Linked DNA regions of Homo sapiens: region 1 is linked to region 2. Evidence: promoter capture Hi-C in 16 types of primary human blood cells and fetal thymus (Javierre and others, 2016). All regions are on one chromosome and are shown on one strand. The core of a region is centred on a gene start or on the middle of the fragment in contact, and the rest is flanking DNA. Distances in the headings are between cores, read along the strand shown. Region 1 overlaps DCHS1 (dachsous cadherin-related 1). Region 2 holds the start of SMPD1 (sphingomyelin phosphodiesterase 1).

What was found. The method cuts DNA at HindIII sites, captures the fragments that hold promoters and counts their contacts. A CHiCAGO score of 5 or more calls a contact.
Region 1: a fragment that was not itself captured here is called in contact with the fragment with the promoter of SMPD1 in region 2 in 7 of 17 cell types (activated CD4 T cells, non-activated CD4 T cells, naive CD4 T cells and 4 more); the score reaches 8.4 in activated CD4 T cells.

The regions. Positions count from the first base shown.
Region 1 is chr11:6,630,821-6,636,544 of GRCh38, reverse strand. It overlaps DCHS1 (dachsous cadherin-related 1), which reads left to right. Exons shown (of 21, transcript NM_003737.4): 3 at 2,239-2,427; 4 at 2,525-2,756; 5 at 2,897-3,133; 6 at 3,489-4,514; 7 at 4,736-4,929; 8 at 5,138-5,234; 9 at 5,335-5,492; 10 at 5,682-5,724. Among named protein-coding and RNA genes, the nearest start is that of TPP1, 14 kb to the right of the region's middle. The HindIII fragment of the contact is 2,679 bases long and covers 2,399-5,077 here.
Region 2 is chr11:6,385,977-6,391,723 of GRCh38, reverse strand. It overlaps SMPD1 (sphingomyelin phosphodiesterase 1), which reads right to left and starts at 1,250. Exons shown (of 6, transcript NM_000543.5): 1 at 808-1,250; 2 at 1-340. The coding sequence starts at 1,125. LOC124902624 (a long non-coding RNA gene) reads left to right here and starts at 1,368. Exons shown (of 2, transcript XR_007062573.1): 1 at 1,368-1,617. RefSeq lists a silencer at 1,034-1,533. The HindIII fragment of the contact is 7,977 bases long and covers 1-2,299 here.

The DNA of each region.
Region 1 (5,724 bases), core at 2,489-4,988, 240 kb before region 2:
AACATAGTGAGAGCCTGTCTTAAAAAATAAATAAAGGCCAGGCACAGTGGTTCACGCCTGTAATCTCGGCACTTTGGGAGGCCAAGGTGGAAGGACTGGTTGAGGCCAGGAGTTTGAGACCAGCCTGGGCAACATAGTGAAACACTGTCTATGCAAAAAATAAAAAAACTAGCCAGGCATGGTGGTGCACGCCTGTAGTCCTAGTTGTTCCGGAGGCTAAGGCAGGAGGATTGCTTGAGCCCAGGAGTTCGAAGTTGCAGTGAGCTAGGATCACACCACTGCACCCCAGACTGGGCAACAGAGAGCCTGTCTCAAAAATAAATTAAATAAATAAATAATTTATGTTTTGAAAAGTCAAAGCAGGAGGTACACCTGGAAAAGAGGTTGGGATAGGCATATGGAGTAAGTTTCGAGGCTAGTAAGAAGTTTAGAGAGTTCACAGATAAGTGTCTTTCTTTTCTCCTTGAAATAGTGCATCTGATGAGAGCAAGGGATGGGATGGGGGCAAGAGAAGAGGGATGAAGTTTATTATGGCTTTGGGGCAGAATGGGAGAGGGAGCCGACCAAGGTCGGACTGAGACGCTGAGCTGAGAATCTGCTGAAAATGGAGACTGTATTTGCAGTGAAACCTCTGAGCAGGGGTTGTACAGGCCAGGAAATTCACTTCTGCCTTGCTCATTTCCAGTCAGTGGCCCCTGTGCCTTTTGGGGTCACTTCCTGACAACTTCCCCAGACCACTGTTTATTGCTTTCTTCCTGCAGCGAGTCAGAGGGCAAAGGTCGTTAACAGCTTCTGGAGATGGTGCCGCAGCTGTGCTGCTGCCTGCCAGGATTGATGTAGGGGAAGTCTGTCTCCTGGGATATCCGGGCCCACAGCCACAGTAGAGAGTTGGAGCAGAAGCTGTTTCCAGGGTTCAGCCATGGCAGGGTCTTGGTGTCTCTCAGGAGGGTAAACAATGGCACAGATCATTTCTGTCAAGGGTCTGGGCCACAATCAGAAGTCCTTGGCCAGCTTTCTCTCTAAGCACATTTTCTGGCTGAGAAAGGGGAACTCTCCAGCTTCCTCTTGCAGCATATCCTGACCCTGAGGTCCTTATATCCACAAAGAGCGCTTTGTCACAGGCTACAGTTGTCAGCACCAGCTAACCCACTATTGAGGGCCTAATGTGTACCCAATGTATAAAACTTAGTGTGAAAGAAGGTTTTGTTACAAAGCAGGATGATCAGACCGTCGATTTACTCGGTGAAAAAATACACATAAAGCACCTACTATGTACCTTGCACTGTACTAGGCTAACGATGCATGAGCCACACACCCATAAATCTATAGAACAGACCCTATAGTGATCAGATCCCAGTATTAATCAGATCCCACTCTGTAATAATCAAACTCAATAAAGATCAAACCTATAAATCAGTCTCAATAATTCCACTGTCGGTGAGTTCTTGGTTTGGGGTGATTATGAGACTTGGTGAGGGTATTAACTTCCTGGACCCACCTGGAATTTGAGGTCACAGCCCTTTCTTCTTTCTAAGTACAGTTGGTCCTCATTATTTGTGAATTCACTTAATCTCGAAAATTTATTTGTAACTCCAAAATCAATACTAGCATTCCTGGACATGGGCAGAGAGATGAAAAATTTGAGTTACCTAATGTTCACATTCCCAGCACAGGGTGAACAAGACGATGTTCTGCCTTCTCATTTGGGCTCTCATGCTTGTAAACAAATGTCCCTTTCAGGTCTATTTACTGCAACTTTTTTTTTTCATTTTTTTAGTGCAAAAAGCTGATGATTTCACTGTTTAAATGGTCCCCAAGTGTAGTGCTGAAGTGTGGTCTAATGTTCCTCAGTACAAGAAGGCTGTGATGTGTTGTATGGAGAAAATACATATGTTAGATAAGCTTTATTCAGGCATGAGTTACAGTGCTGTTGGCTGTGAGTTCAATGTTAATGAATGAACAATGTATATTAAACATAAGATGTCTTTAAACAGAAACACACATCAAACAAGGTTATGTATTGACCAGCTGACAAAAAATGTTATGGCTAGAGGCACTTAGGAACCTAACTAAATGGTGAGGTACAGGCTGAGGTTGGGTTTGGGCCCATGTCCTACTAGTCCTCTCTGTGTGTCCGCCATCCAGAGACTTAGCACCAGTTGTTCATTCTAATGGCCACCTACCTCTGGCTTTTCTGGCAAAGAAGAGGGGACACCACTCACCCCAGCCTCTCCCTAGGTGACAGCCACAGACGCGGATAGTGGCCCATTTGGCCTCCTCTCCTATTCCTTGGGTGCTGGACTTGGGTCCTCCGGATCTCCCCCATTCCGCATTGATGCCCACAGCGGTGATGTGTGCACAACCCGGACCCTGGACCGTGACCAGGGGCCCTCAAGCTTTGACTTCACAGTGACAGCTGTGGATGGGGTAAGTCAGTAGACCAAGGGCAGGTTGGGATGTTGGGGTAGGGCACTCACCAGGGCCAGATGAGGCCCACCTGACCTATGGCTGCATGTCCCACCAGGGAGGCCTCAAGTCCATGGTATATGTGAAGGTGTTTCTGTCAGACGAGAATGACAACCCTCCTCAGTTTTATCCACGGGAGTATGCTGCCAGTATAAGTGCCCAGAGTCCACCAGGCACAGCTGTGCTGAGGTTGCGTGCCCATGACCCTGACCAGGGATCCCATGGGCGACTCTCCTACCATATCCTGGCTGGCAACAGCCCCCCACTTTTTACCTTGGATGAGCAATCAGGTGAGGATCCTCCCATTCCCGGGGCCTTCCCCCAGGTCCCCCTCCCCACCTGCCTAAATGATGTCCTACCCACCTCCTCCATAACCTTTCTAGCCCTATTATGTTTCCTTATATATCTCTGCTTCTATTCTTCCTCTCAGGGCTGTTGACAGTAGCCTGGCCCTTGGCCAGACGGGCCAATTCTGTGGTGCAGCTGGAGATCGGGGCTGAGGACGGAGGTGGCCTACAGGCAGAACCCAGTGCCCGAGTGGACATCAGCATTGTGCCTGGAACCCCCACACCACCCATATTTGAGCAACTACAGTATGTTTTTTCTGTGCCAGAGGATGTGGCACCAGGCACCAGTGTGGGCATAGTCCAGGCACACAACCCACCAGGTATCATTTAGCTTTATACCCACTTGGTGTCAGACCCAAATACCCCAGTATAACCCTCCAGCACCATCCGAAGATACCTTAGAGTATCACAGGGCAGATAGCCCCAGTATAAAACACTCCTGTACCAATGCCCAACACCTCCTTAGGCACAGTGCAGGCACACTGCTTCATGAGGCATAGGAATGTCACCTCAGTGCGTGCCAACCAACTTCTTTGCCAACCCCTGCCCCTCCTCCTAATATTTTGAAAGGCATGGGTGTGGGCACTGCCCAGTCCTTCTCGGGATCAGACTCTGGGTCCTGACTCAATAAGTGCCCCTCCATCTCTTTCCTGATCCCTTTTTCATCCTCCCTAGGTCGCTTGGCACCTGTGACCCTTTCCCTATCAGGTGGGGATCCCCGAGGACTCTTCTCCCTAGATGCGGTATCAGGACTGTTGCAAACACTTCGCCCTCTGGACCGGGAGCTACTGGGACCAGTGTTGGAGCTGGAGGTGCGAGCAGGCAGTGGAGTGCCCCCAGCTTTCGCTGTAGCTCGGGTGCGTGTGCTGCTGGATGATGTGAATGACAACTCCCCTGCCTTTCCTGCACCTGAAGACACGGTATTGCTACCACCAAACACTGCCCCAGGGACTCCCATCTATACACTGCGGGCTCTTGACCCCGACTCAGGTGTTAACAGTCGAGTCACCTTTACCCTGCTTGCTGGGGGTGGTGGAGCCTTCACCGTGGACCCCACCACAGGCCATGTACGGCTTATGAGGCCTCTGGGGCCCTCAGGAGGGCCAGCCCATGAGCTGGAGCTGGAGGCCCGGGATGGGGGCTCCCCACCACGCACCAGCCACTTTCGACTACGGGTGGTGGTACAGGATGTGGGAACCCGTGGGCTGGCTCCCCGATTCAACAGCCCTACCTACCGTGTGGACCTGCCCTCAGGCACCACTGCTGGAACTCAGGTCCTGCAAGTGCAGGCCCAAGCACCAGATGGGGGCCCTATCACCTATCACCTTGCAGCAGAGGGAGCAAGTAGCCCCTTTGGCCTGGAGCCACAGAGTGGGTGGCTATGGGTGCGGGCAGCACTAGACCGTGAGGCCCAGGAATTGTACATACTGAAGGTAATGGCAGTGTCTGGGTCCAAAGCTGAGTTGGGGCAGCAGACAGGCACAGCCACCGTGAGGGTCAGCATCCTCAACCAGAATGAACACAGTCCCCGCTTGTCTGAGGATCCCACCTTCCTGGCTGTGGCTGAGAACCAGCCCCCAGGGACCAGCGTGGGCCGAGTCTTTGCCACTGACCGAGACTCAGGACCCAATGGACGTCTGACCTACAGCCTGCAACAGCTGTCTGAAGACAGCAAGGCCTTCCGCATCCACCCCCAGACTGGTGAGCACAGAGACCCAAATCCTGAGACCGCATAGCCTTATCCCCAGCCTGGTGAACATTCAGACAGGATCCCCAACCCCCAGCTCCCATCTCGCCCCTGAGAATGAGGATTTAGCCCTGGCATTCCCTCCCCCACTCCCCAAACACCAGCTTCTTAGGTGCAGGCCTCAGGCTCTGCATCCTTAAACATCTCGTACATGATCGCCTTCTTGCACTCCCAGGAGAAGTGACCACACTCCAAACCCTGGACCGTGAGCAGCAGAGCAGCTATCAGCTCCTGGTGCAGGTGCAGGATGGAGGGAGCCCACCCCGCAGCACCACAGGCACTGTGCATGTTGCAGTGCTTGACCTCAACGACAACAGCCCCACGTTCCTGCAGGCTTCAGGAGCTGCTGGTGGGGGCCTCCCTATACAGGTATGTGAAGTGGCAGGACTTTGTCCTGAGAAGTGTGAGAGGGAGTGGGGATCTCCCCATAGAGCTGTAGGTGTAGGTAAGAGACTGCCTCCTGGATTGGGTGTGAGAGCCGAAAAGAGGTTCTGCCTGCCCACAGGTGAGGGAAGCTTTATCCTGAGTTGTCTGAAGAACAGGAAAGAGACTCACTAGGTGAGTTGTGTTCCCACAGGTACCAGACCGCGTGCCTCCGGGAACACTGGTGACGACTCTGCAGGCGAAGGATCCAGATGAGGGGGAGAATGGGACCATCTTGTACACGCTAACTGGTATGGGAGTGGAGAGAGGAGAATTGGTGGGTGATGGCATGCCCTCATGGCCTGCCCAGCTCTGGGCCCCAAGCCCTCATCTTCCTCTGCCTGTCCCCAGGTCCTGGCTCAGAGCTTTTCTCTCTGCACCCTCACTCAGGGGAGCTGCTCACTGCAGCTCCCCTGATCCGAGCAGAGCGGCCCCACTATGTGCTGACACTGAGTGCTCATGACCAAGGCAGCCCTCCTCGAAGTGCCAGCCTCCAGCTGCTGGTGCAGGTATGGCTGCCCTTCCTCCCCTTGGCTACCGCTGTAGGTCCCCTTCAGTAGCTCCAGCTTCACGGGAATCCTTTGGCTCCACTAGCAGTCAGGCTACTCTGACCACTTTCCTACCACCTGGGAAGCCAGCCCAGATCCCCTTTTACACGGGCCCTCACAATTCTGTTCTCCCTCCCCGGTCCACAACAGGTGCTTCCCTCAGCTCGCTTGGCCGAGCCGCCCCCAGATCTCG
Region 2 (5,747 bases), core at 1-2,500:
CCGTGCCCTCCAGGTAGTCATGATCCCAGTGCAGGTCAGTGAGGAAGAGGATGCGGCTGACAGGGGCACCTGGGGCTGGGGGGCTAGGGGGTTTGGGGGGCGGCTTCGGCACAGTAGGCAAAGAGATGTTCCAAGATGAGAAAATGTCCCAGTGCCCACAGGTGGAGCCCAGGAGCAGGCCACAGGCCTCAGATGGGCTCAGCACTGAGCGTCTCCACACCTCCACCATGTCATCCTCAAAGAGGTGGACAATGGATTGGCACACGGCAGGTGGTGCTATCTTCAGCAGATTGCACAGCTTGATGGCCACGGAGCCCACGCGAGCCACATTGGGTTCCTTCTGCAGTGGGAGGAGCGCATGGTGAGAAATCAGAGGCAGAGCAGAGGAACCAGGCCAACCCCTGGCCACCACCCCTTGGGCCTCCATTTCCAAACTGGGGCTGGGCAGGACTCAGTGCACCAAGCTCAGTGCACACCTTTGCCTTCCAGATATTGCCCTGTAACTCAGGCAGCACCAGGCCATCGCTTCTTCTTTAGCTCAGCGGCCTGTGGCATGAGGCCTTTGCTTGGCAAGCTGACTTCCTCAGGCACTGTCTGCATTATTTTCTTACTTCACAAAGGTCACAATGGGGTGATGGTGGCATGTAGCCATGGGTGTCCCCAAAGGGGAGCAAACTCAGTGATGGATTGTAGATGCCACCCTCTCCATCAGGGATGCATTCTGAGCCCAGCGCACCAGCATCAGCCCCAGCCCCCAGCCCCAGCACTCCTTTCGGCCTCCTCCACTGCAGCCCCTTCAGTGCTCACCTTCAGCCCGAGGTTGATGGCGGTGAATAGACCTTTGCAGATTGGGCAGGTGAGGTTCCCCCACCCAAAGACATCTCGGAGCCGGGGCACTATGCGATGTAACCTGGCAGGATGGCCTTGGGGAGAAAGAGGGTGAGCCTCTGCCGGAGCCCAGAGAACCCGAGAGTCAGACAGAGCCAGCGCCAGCGCCAGCGCCAGCGCCAGCGCCAGCACCAGGCCCATCCAAAGGAGTCCGGGGGCTCCGGCGGTCCCGTCTTGTCCCTGCTCCCGGCCGGACCTGGGGCAGCTCTGGCGGAGTGACGCTCCGTAGCGGGGCATTGTCGCGCTTCCTACACGGGGCTGGTTCGTCTGTCCCGTCCCCCCCGGCCTGGACCCTAGCCAGCCCTCAGGGCCCCGGGCGGCGCCGGGGACACCCGATTACCCTTCTCTGTAGTCGGCTGACTGCTCCGCGGCCGGCCGCAAAGCAGCTCCGCCCCTTCCTCTTCCTCTGATCTCTGACAGCTGATCTCTCGGTGGCGGGCGGCTGTCAACGCTGCGGAGGCGGAGGGGGCGGGGCGCTCCCGGGACCGCCCCGATTCCGCCCCCTCTCCCTGCCCCCGCCCTGCCCCGGGCGCACGGGCTGCGGGGGTGGGGACTCTCCCTGAGGTCACCAGGGGCTCCGCCTTGAGGTCACAGCCGCGGGAGGCCGTGCTCGTGCTTTGGAGCTCCATGTGATGTGGTCGGTGGAAGACGTCTCCTTTGTCAGAATCCGCGCTCAGATTCCCGGAATAGCTGCCAGACCGACCCCAGCGTTTAGCCCGGGAAGGGGAGGTAGGAGAGAGCAGGGCGGGCAGGATCCTCCCACTGGGTGTGTTGCCTCTGACAGGAAGGCGCCTTCCCTCGATTCCCCATGCTCTGCCACTGGCACCAGCCCTCTTGAGTCACCCTGAGAATCACTCACCTGTGATTCAGATGAGGAAACAAACCTTAGAGATGGTGAAGAGACTAGGAAGCCGTAAAGACCATATAGCCGTGGGGGCCAATAACATGGGCGGGAACCCAATTGGGTCTCCCACCTCCGTGTATCCACGACAGTAAAAGCGAGCATTTATGGAGTTGTTTATGATGTGCCAAGCACCAACCCAGGCACTTTATAATTAATAATCTTCAATTCTCACAACAACCCTAAGAAGTACCTATTATATTGGGGCTCAGAAATCCATACCCAAAATATGGTGGTTTGACTTACTAAGTTAAGCCTTAAGGTGTGTCTGGCCTTCCTACTCCCGCGCCCTCTCTCCCAAAGCCGTTACCTAGCGTCCAGACCCATCAAAAGGAACAACGGTTTTTTTCTTCCCCTCCCTACAAAACCAAGAATATAATCACACCTGAACAGACCCCTTCACATGATAATGTGCTAGTTAATCTGTTCCCTGATCCATTCCTTCTCCCTCAGCAGAATTCCTCTTCCCCTCACTCCCACAACCCCCTTTGCCTGAATGACACCTAAGCTTCTGAACTCGTCTGGGAAGTGGGTAGTCACTCTGTGGTTCCCCGTGGACACATTAATACAATTTCTATGCCTTTTCTTCAATTAATCTGTTTTTTGTGGGTTGATTTTTCAGCAGAATTTCAGAGGGCGAAGGGAAAGTTTCCCTTGGTCCCTGCAAATACTATTATTACCCTCCTTTACAGATAGGATGAGGCACAAAGAAGTTAAGTGGCAGAATAGCAATTAAACCCTAAGCTGTTTGACGAGTGCTTCTGAGGAATCCTCAGAGCTATCAAGTCCTGTCAGTTCTTTCCTTTGATAATTTTTTACAAGTGTTTTTTCCCCCCAGTTCTGGGGACATCATCTCAGATAGAGTACTCACAGTAATAATTAGCATGCATTTTTAAGATTATGTACTATGAAAAACAAAACAAAACAAAACCTTTTTATCTAAGGAAGATGAGCCCCTTTAAATTATCAGGCCCAGACAGGCATTTAAAATGTAGCAACAGTCACTCTCACTCTTCTTTGAGCTAAGTAATTATCTCTTGAAACCACTTGCTATGCCAAGTAGCCATTAAATGCCATACACCTTATAGTTCAACAATGTATAGCCAAGCGCTAAACAATGTATAACCAGTGTTATTTCTGTAAACAATGAGAATTCCTGATGAACAACTTTTGTATTCATTTCCTCTCCTAATTCATCTTTTTTTCTTTGAAAATATGAGCCTCTCTTTTGTTGTCCAGAGTGCTCCCCCAAGACAACTTGCAAGTGTGTCCTGGGTCGCAGTCCTCAACCTTGGCCCTTGGCCCGAATAACCCTCTGTAGGTACTTTTCTGAGGACTCTGCCTTACGTTAATCCTCACAACAAATTTGGAAGTCGGTATTATAATTATCCCCATTTTACGGAGAAGGAAAGTAGGATTAAGTAAGTGGCTCAAGATCCCACAGCTAGCTAGTAAGTGCTGGAACTGGAATTTGGATGTGTCAAGCAAAACATGTCTGAGACAGGTCTCAATCAATTTAGAGGTTTATTTTGCCAAGGTTAAGGACATGGCTGGAAGAAATAAACACGGAATCGCAGAAACAGTCTGTGGTCTGTGGCTTTCTCCAAAGATGATTTTGAGGGCTTCAATATTTAAAGGGGAAAAGTGAGCTGGAGGGAAAGAAGAAGGGTATGGTAATCCACATGTCGCAAGAGAAAAGGAGCAGGTAGGGAGATACTCAATTATGTGTTCGTCTGGCACTTTACATAAGATAAAGTAAATATGCCTGTGGAGATATTTAACCTTTTGTGTTTTTTTTGTTTTTTTTTTTTTGAGACAGAGTTTTCGCTGTTGTTGACCAGGCTGGAGTGCAATGGCGCAATCTCGGCTCACCACAACCTCTGCCTCCCGGGTTCAAGTGATTCTCCTGCCTCAGCCTACTGAGTAGCTGGGATTACAGGCATGTGCCACCACACCCGGCTAATTTTGTAAATATTTAACCTTTTGTCTGTAGCTATCTGCTTAGGAACAAAAGGAAAGGCAGCTTCTTGCATGACTCAGTTTTCAGTTTATTTTTTTTCCTTTTGGCATAGTCAACTGGAGTCCTGAGTTTTTATTTTCCTTTCACAAATGCAACATTCTGGCTCTATTCTTTGCTGTGTGGGGACCCATTCAGAACACCAGAGTTGGTATAACAATTATTTTAAGCCGAAGACATTTCAGATTCAATAGATGCAGAAATAAACCTTCTGGGAGCTTTCTTCATCTGATTAAAACTTCTGGGAAATGTCAACCTAAAGGGAAAAATCTAAGGCAAACTTGATATAAGTAGAGAGTTTATTTGGGCCAAGTTTGAAGACTGTGAAGCGAAGATTCAAGTTGCCCTGAGTATATGCTCCCAATTAGCAGAAGTCACAAGTGGGTTTTTAAAGGAGAAGAAGAGGCAGTTCCTAATGAGGACTAAGCTCTGATTTTTTCTTATCTTGCTCAAATTCCTATCGAAAGGGTCTGGGGAGTCATGCCCTACAAACCATAAATTCTTATCAGTTGGGTTTTATTTAACACTATATATTGTGACTGCCTTTTCAGTCATACTCTGGCATAAAATTACGTGATAAAGAAGAAAGTCAAAATATTTTACCCCAAAACATGTTTCTTTGCCATATATATATATATATATATATATATATATATATATATATATATGTTTTTTGGTTTGGGGTGGGGGGCGGGACAGAGTTTCACTCTTATTGCCCGGGCTGGAGTGCAATGGGGTGATCTTGGCTTACTGCAACCTCCCCCACCCAGATTCAAGGGATTCTCCTGCCTCAGCCTCCCGAGTAGCTGGGATTACAGGCACCCACCACCACCATGCCCAGCTAATTTTTGTATTGTTAATAAAGATGGGGTTTTGCCATGCTGGCCAGGCTGGTCTCGAACTTCTGACCTCAGGTGATCCGCCTGCCTTGGCCTCCCAAAGTACTGGGATTACAGGAGTAAGCCACCGCACCCGGCCACTTTGCCATATTTTGAAATGGCCCTGCAAAGTCGTACCTTATGGGGGAAAATTTACATCTGTAAAGAATCTCTAATAACACAGATCTTTTTCTTCTGGGCCCTCCAATCCTGAAGAGATTAACTGAGAGTCTAGCACCTTTTAAAGGTCTGAATAGGAAACATTTGTCGACTGTTGTCTCTAAGGGCAGCCACTAAGAGACTTCAAAGAACCTTGGTCTCCACAATCTTTTTTTTTTTTTTAAAAATGGCGTCTCACTCTGTCGCCCAGGCTGGAGTGCAACAGTGTAATCTCGGCTCACTGCAACCTCCGCCTCCCGGGTTCAAGCAATTCTCCTACCCCAGCCCCCCGAGCAGCTGGGACTACAGGCATCTGCCACCACACCCAGCTAATTTTCATATTTTTAATAGAGATGGGGCTTCACGATGTTGGCCAGGATGGTCTCCATCTCTTGACCTCGTGATCCGCCTGCCTTAGCCTCCCAAAGTGCTGGGATTACAGGTGTGAGCCACTGTGCCCGGCCTCCACAATCTTTTATCTTAACCTGAACATTTCCTTTCTATTGATCCCAGGTCTTTAGACAAACTCAACCAATTGTCAACCAGAAAATGTTTAAATTTCCCTATAGCCTGGAAGCTCCCCATCCCCCAGCTTCAGATTGTCCCACCTTTCTTGACCAAACCAATGTATTTCTCAAATTTATTTGATTGATGTCTCATACATCCCTAAAATGTATAAAACCAAGCTGCACCCTGACCACCTTGGGCACATGTTCTCAGGACCTCCTGAGGGCTGTGTCACGGGCCATGGTCACTCGTTTGGCTCAAAATAAATCTCTTCAAATATTTTACAGAGTTTCACTCTTTTCATAGACACTAAGTTGTTCACCAAGAATTTACATAAAAATAACATAAGCTATTGATTGGCTATGCCTTGTTCTTTGTATCATAAATCCCAGGAATG